Regions from separate parts of the Homo sapiens genome. Here region 2 is linked to region 1. The links are contacts of gene promoters, found by promoter capture Hi-C in blood cells and fetal thymus (Javierre and others, 2016). All regions are on one chromosome and are shown on one strand. Each heading gives the region's core, a stretch centred on a gene start or on the middle of the fragment in contact. The rest is flanking DNA. Distances are from core to core; before and after follow the strand shown.

Evidence for each region. The method cuts DNA at HindIII sites, captures the fragments that hold promoters and counts their contacts. A CHiCAGO score of 5 or more calls a contact.
Region 2: a fragment that was not itself captured here is called in contact with the fragment with the promoter of TULP1 in region 1 in 11 of 17 cell types (naive CD4 T cells, naive CD8 T cells, activated CD4 T cells and 8 more); the score reaches 7.5 in naive CD4 T cells.

Annotation. Positions count from the first base shown.
Region 1 is chr6:35,511,451-35,514,548 of GRCh38, forward strand. It overlaps TULP1 (TUB like protein 1), which reads right to left and starts at 1,446. Exons shown (of 15, transcript NM_003322.6): 1 at 1,362-1,446; 2 at 1,189-1,240; 3 at 730-820; 4 at 198-356. The coding sequence starts at 1,408. The HindIII fragment of the contact is 3,090 bases long and covers 1-1,669 here.
Region 2 is chr6:35,749,120-35,752,217 of GRCh38, forward strand. No RefSeq gene overlaps it. Among named protein-coding and RNA genes, the nearest start is that of ARMC12, 14 kb to the left of the region's middle. The HindIII fragment of the contact is 5,130 bases long and covers 1-3,098 here.

The DNA.
Region 1 (3,098 bases), core at 196-2,695:
AATGGTGGAGGGGGGGAACAAAGCACCCTCTCATAGTTGGTGCTTAGCACAATACCTGGCTCAAAGATAAGGCCAGAAAAGTGGGGGCTATTTGACTACAGTTGTTTTCTGCCTCTCTGGGCCGTTCCCGTCCAGCCAGCCCCTTCTCTCCTTAGCTCCACCGCCCCCTCACCCGCGTCCCTGGGGCCCTCTCTCACCGTCCTCCGCGTCTGGGGCACGGGCTACCAGAAAGGTTTCCCGGGGGTCGCGCTTCTTGGCCTCGGGGTCCCTGAGGAACCTGGCGTAGACCGTCTGCGGCGCCCGGGCCTGGGCTGGGTCTGGGGAAGGCTCCTCCCGCGGCCTCCCCGTCCGCCCAGCTGAGCCGAGATGCGGGGTTCAGACAGGGTCCCATCCGCGGGTCCGCGAGGCAGCGCCTCTACCCGCTACCCCCAAGCCTGGGCGCACCCCCTCGGGCTCCTCACCCTAGGGATCTCCCCTGGGCTTGGGTTTCCACTTTCAACACTTCTCCCCGGCTTCCATTCAGCTTCCCACCCCCTTCTACCCCAACGCCACCCCCTTCTACACCAACCCCAACCCCAACCCCAACCCCAATCCCTCCCCTCTCATCACTCCCCGCCCCCTCCTCCCCCACCCCGTTCCAGGGCTCGGCGACACCCGCGCCGGCCCTCAAGCCCCTCCCTTCCGCAGCCCACACCCTGGGGGTCCACCCGGGCTCTGCACCCCGCCCACCTCCGGGCTTCCGGGGCTTGGATCCCGTGGGGCAGGGGGATTCGGGGGCCTCCGTCCTCTTCTTCCTTAGCCTCTGTGCCGGGGCGGGTCGCTGCGGAACGGGGGTCAAGAGGAGGTCGAGGAAGGAAAGGGGGGCGCTGAGGCCCGCCCATCCCCCTCTAATCCCTTGAGCCGCCAGAAATAACCGCAGATTATCCGGGGGGAACTGCAGCCCCCTTCTTGGAGTGAGGCAGGATGACCCCTTCCATGCATCGTGGCCATATCCAATGCTCCAAAGTCCCTATTCCTTCCCTGGAAACCCCAAGTCCCCAAACAGCCCTTTCTCCCCCCAGATCTCCAGACATGCAACCCCCAGACCCTGCTAAGGGGGACCTGTCCCACCCCTAGACCCCCTACCCTGCGTGGGTTTACGCACAGCGGGGACATCTTTCTGCTTCCTTTCCAAGTGGGGTGGCATACCTGTTTGGGGCGCCGCGGGGCCTCCGGGCTCAGGCTTTCTTCTTCATGCCCACTGAGGGTAGCAAAGGGATCAGCCTGTCTCCCTTCCCCTTCCCTCCCCATCCCACCCACTCCCCATCCCTCCATCTAGGCCCCCCAGGGTTCAGGTGCCACGAACTGGGGGCCTTCCAGACCTGTCAGAGGCCCACACCTCTCGGAGGGTTTCATCCCGCAGAGGCATGGTGCCTTTGCCTATCGCACCCCTTTCTCTGCAGGTCTAGGAGCCTCCCTCCCGACTCCTGCTAATCTCGGCTCAACTTCACCCCCCTTCCCCCTGCTCAAGGAGTGGAGGCCTGGCCGCGCTGTGGGAGGTGCTACAGCCCACGACCCTCCCCTGCTAGGCCCAGGCCACTGGGGGAAGAATCTCAACTCCAGTTCTTCTCAGATCCCCAGCAGCCTGCAGGATGGCCACCAGCTCCACCTGCCCCGAGAAGCCCCCAGAAGCTTGGGGTGAGAGGGGCCGATTAGTCATTTGTCAATGGGATGTGGAAGAAAACATTAGACTGGATCCTGTATTTATCTTTATTTCTCACAAAAAATAAGAACTAGAGCCAGGTGCGGTGGTTTACACCTGTAATCCCAGCACTTTGGGAGGCTGAGACAGGTGGATCATTTGAGGTCAGGAGTTCGAGGCCAGCCTGGCCGGCACAGTGAAACCCAGTCTCTACTAAAAATTCAAAAATTAGCCGGGTGCGGTGGCTCACCCCTGTAATCCCAGCACTTTGGGAGGCCGAGGCAGACGGATCACAAGGTCAGGAGATCGAGACTATCCTGGCTAACATGGTGAAACCTCATCTCTACTAAAAATGCAAAAATTAGCCGGGCATGGCGGCAGGCACCTGTAGTCCCAGCTACTCAGGAGGCTGAGGCAGGAGAATGGCGTGTACCTGGGAGGCGGAGCTTGCAGTGAGCGGAAATCATGCCACTGCACTCCTGCCTGGGCAACAGAGTGAGACTCCGTCTCAAAATAAATAAATAAATAAATAAAAAATTAGCTGGGCATCGTGGTGGGCACCTGTAGTCCCAGCTACTGGGGAGGCTGAGGCAGGAGAAGCACTTGAACCTGGGAGGCGGAGGTTGCAGTGAGCCGAGATCTTGCCAATGCACTCCAGCCTGGCCAAAAAGAGCAAGACTACATCTCAGAAAAAAAAAAAAAAAAAAGAATATGTCTGTATTGGAGGTATACCCTTAACTCTTTTTCTTTTTTCACTGATAGGGGACATGCTTTTGTGGTATTGTTTTGTTTTGTTTTAGACAGAATTTTGCTCTTGTCACCCAGGCTGGAGTGCAGTGGCACGATCCTGGCTAATTACAGTAAATCCATATCAAATGGAACTTTCTAAAATACTATTTCTTCGGTTGCCACCTTTGTTCAAAAACATTCATTGGCTCCCTACTGCCTAAGGATTAAGTTTAAATGTGTTGGGTTGACATTCAAGGCTCTCCCTGATCTGGCCCCAGTCTGCCTTTCTAACCACAGGGTTATCCCAAGCCATACTCTTCATCCAGCCACAGAGGTTTCCTTACTGCCTTTACAGTTCTGTCCTCCATGCCTTTGCTCAGGCTGTTCCCTCCCGGAACGCCCTCCCTATTCCATGAAACCTATCCAACTCTAAACAGTCCTCAAGTCGCCACTTCGGAGAGGCCTCAGTCCTCAGTTGGCTCTGACCATATAATAATAATAGCATTTATTGTCCACCTACTGTGGCTTGCTCCCATTCTGACTCCACCCTCACAATAATATTTATGAGACAGACATTAACACCCTGATATTAGGGCAAGGAGCAGTGGCTTATGCCTGTAATCCCAGCACTTTGGGAGGATCACTTGAGCCCAGGAGCTCAAGACCAGGCTGAGCAACATAGTGAGAC
Region 2 (3,098 bases), core at 396-2,895, 240 kb after region 1:
CTAGGCTGGAGTGCAATGGCACAATCTTGGCTCACTGCAACCTGCGCCTCCCTGGTTCACGCCATTCTCTTGCCTCAGCCTCCCGAGTAGCTGGGACTACAGGCGCCCGCCACCACGCCCAGCTAATTTTTGTATTTTTAGTAGAGGTGGGGTTCGGCATGTTGGCCAGGCTGGCTCTTGCTGCTTTTCAAATCAATGTGGAGCCATTGCTTTCAGGGGGTTGGAAGAAGGCAGGCTTGGGGATTGAAGCCAAAGATAATCAACAGGACGCAGTATAGCATTAGATTAGTTAGGATGGGCCAGGCTATCCCACAGTAACAACACTCACACCTCAGTGGCTTAAACATGGCAAAGGGGGCCAGGCGCGGTGGCTCACGCCTGTAATCCTAGCACTTTGGGAGGCCGAGGCGGGCAGATCACGAGGTCAGGAGATCGAGACCATCCTGGCTAAAACGGTGAAATCCCGTCTCTACTAAAAATACAAAAAATTAGCCGGGCGTGGTAGCAGGCGCCTGTAGTCCCAGCTACTCAGGAGGCTGAGGCAGGAGAATGGCGTGAACCCAGGAGGCGGAGCTTGCAGTGAACCGAGATTGCGCCACTGCACTCCAGCCTGGGCGACAAAGCGAGACTCCGTCTCAAGAAAAAAAAAACATGGCAAATGTTAATTCTTGTTTACACTGCATGCCCATTGCAGATCAGCGGTGGGGGTGGAAGGGCAGGCCTCTACTCCACAACATCCTCACACAGAGACCCAGGTTGAGGGAGGCTTCCTCATTGTGTTTCTACAACTATTACAGAAGGACAGGGAATGTGGTAGTGATAAATGTCATCACTTCTGCTCACATCTCATTAGCCAAAGGGGATGAGGAAGATCATTCTTTCCACGTGTCCAAGGAAGAACTGTTGATCCTTGGTGACAGCATGAATGACAGAGATCTGCAGGCATACTGGGTCAGAAAGGGAGCTCTGGAATCAGAGTGCTCGCTTCCAGTCCCAGCTCTGTCACTTACTGTGTGACCTCAGGGGAGCAGTTAACCCTATTTGAGCTTCAGGCCCCTCATCTATAAAATGCATATAATAATAGTACTGATTTCATGACGCTGTTGGGAAAATGAAAGGGGGATTATATGAGTTAACGAACGTAAGCCACAGTGTTCTGCATGCATTCCTCAAAGATGGGCTCTGAGGAGCTATGAAATCATCACTGAGAAAGCCGGGCAGAGTGGCTCACGCCTGTAATCCCAGCACTTTGGGAGGCTGAGGCGGGAGGATCACCCGAGGTCGGGAGTTCGAGACCAGCCTGACCAACACGGAGAAACCCCGTCTCTACTAAAAATACAAAACTAGCCAGATGTGGTGGCGGGCACCTGTAATCCCAGCTACTTGGGAAGCTGAGGCAGGAGAATTGCTTGAACCCGGGAGGCAGAGGTTGCGGTGAGCTGAGATCACGCTATTGCACTCCAGCCTCAGAGACAGAGGTGCGAGACTCCATCTCAAAAAAAAAAAGAAATCATCACTGAGAAAACAAAAGATCATCACTGGGGAGGTCCTTGGAGAGTGTTGCCTCCAGCATTTCTCCAGTCTCTTCAGGTTATGGGCACTGGGGAGTCCTAGAGTCCTCTATGAAGCGTGCTGAAAAGTCATTGAAACTTAGCTTTGGAAACCAGAACAATGGTGTGAGTAATATAACACCATAACCATGAAGTTTCCAGAAACAAGAAGACTGTCAAACCAAATATGGTCATCCATTTTCCAATTCCCCATTCATTTGCGTTTCCCAGTTGTTCCTTCATTGTTTTTTTTGTTTTTTTGAGACGGAGTCTCGCTCTGTCGCCAGGCTGGAGTACAGTGGTACAATCTCAGCTCACTGCATCCTCTGCCTCCCGGGTTCAAGCAATTCTCCTGCCTCAGCCTCCCGAGTAGCTGGGACTACAGGAGCGCGCCACAACACCCAGCTAATTTTTTGTATTTTTTAGTAGAGAAGGGGTTTCACCATGTTGGCCAGGATGGTCTCGATCTCCTGACCTCGTGATCCCCCCACCTTGGCCTCCCAAAGTGCTAGGGTTACAGGTGTGAGCCACCACGCCCAGCCCTCATTCACTGTTTTATCTGTGAATCCTTGCTGGGAAACAGTAAGGATTGCTAACGGTTTAAGAAAATGCTACGGGAGAGAAACCTAATGTTGGAGCTATTCCCAGCCTGAGACTGCTCGATCTAGGACAAAGAACCTGGTCCAGCCACGGGCTCCCGGTGTTCTTCAGAAGCAGGATTTGAAAACTAGTCTCGTCCAGGACCAACCCTGGCATTTTCCTGAAAGGAAAACAAACCCAAAATGGAAAAGTGACTTGCTCAAGGTCACATGACTGGTCTAGGGCAGAAATAGGATTAGAACCTCCTACTACTGAGCTTTTCTTTTGCCCTCACATTCTTCGGTCCAAGCCCCGTAAGAGTGGGTCATGGATTCTAAGCCCAAACCTATGGAAACTGAGGAGGATCTTGATGCTTCTGGATTTTAGAGGCCAGTTTAGGACTGAAGTACTTAAAGGAAATCTGTCCCCACTTAATCCCTGGCCCAAGGTCATATCACTCAGGTGGAAGAGGGAGGGTGTTTCTTGATGAGGATGGGCTGATGAGAAAGAGCCAGAGCCTATAGAGAGGCCAACCCCGTCACTGTCTCCCAGAATGAGTGGGCAGTCACTACCAGATCTGAATCAGCATCCCTTGTTTCCCTCCTGAGTTCAGGCCTGAGGCTGCTCCTTCTTGCTGCTGAATACACTGCAGCCACCCCAGTGGAACTTGTCAAATGCCGACGTTTCCTTTCGACCAGCTCCATGTGTGCCCATGTCACCAACAAGGTGTTGGGCATCACTTTCAAATTCTCCTCCCCACCACATCCACCTAGTTCCCCCATTTCCACTGCTACTGCCCTGTCCTCCACATCAGGACTTGCCTACTTCTTTCTTTCTTTCTTTTTTTTTTTTTTTGAGACAGGGTCTCACTCTGTCTCCCAGGCTAAAGTGCAGTGGAGCAAACACAGCTCACTGCAGCCTCGACCTCCCAGGCTCACGTGGTCCTTCCACGTCAGCCTCCTTGGGTAG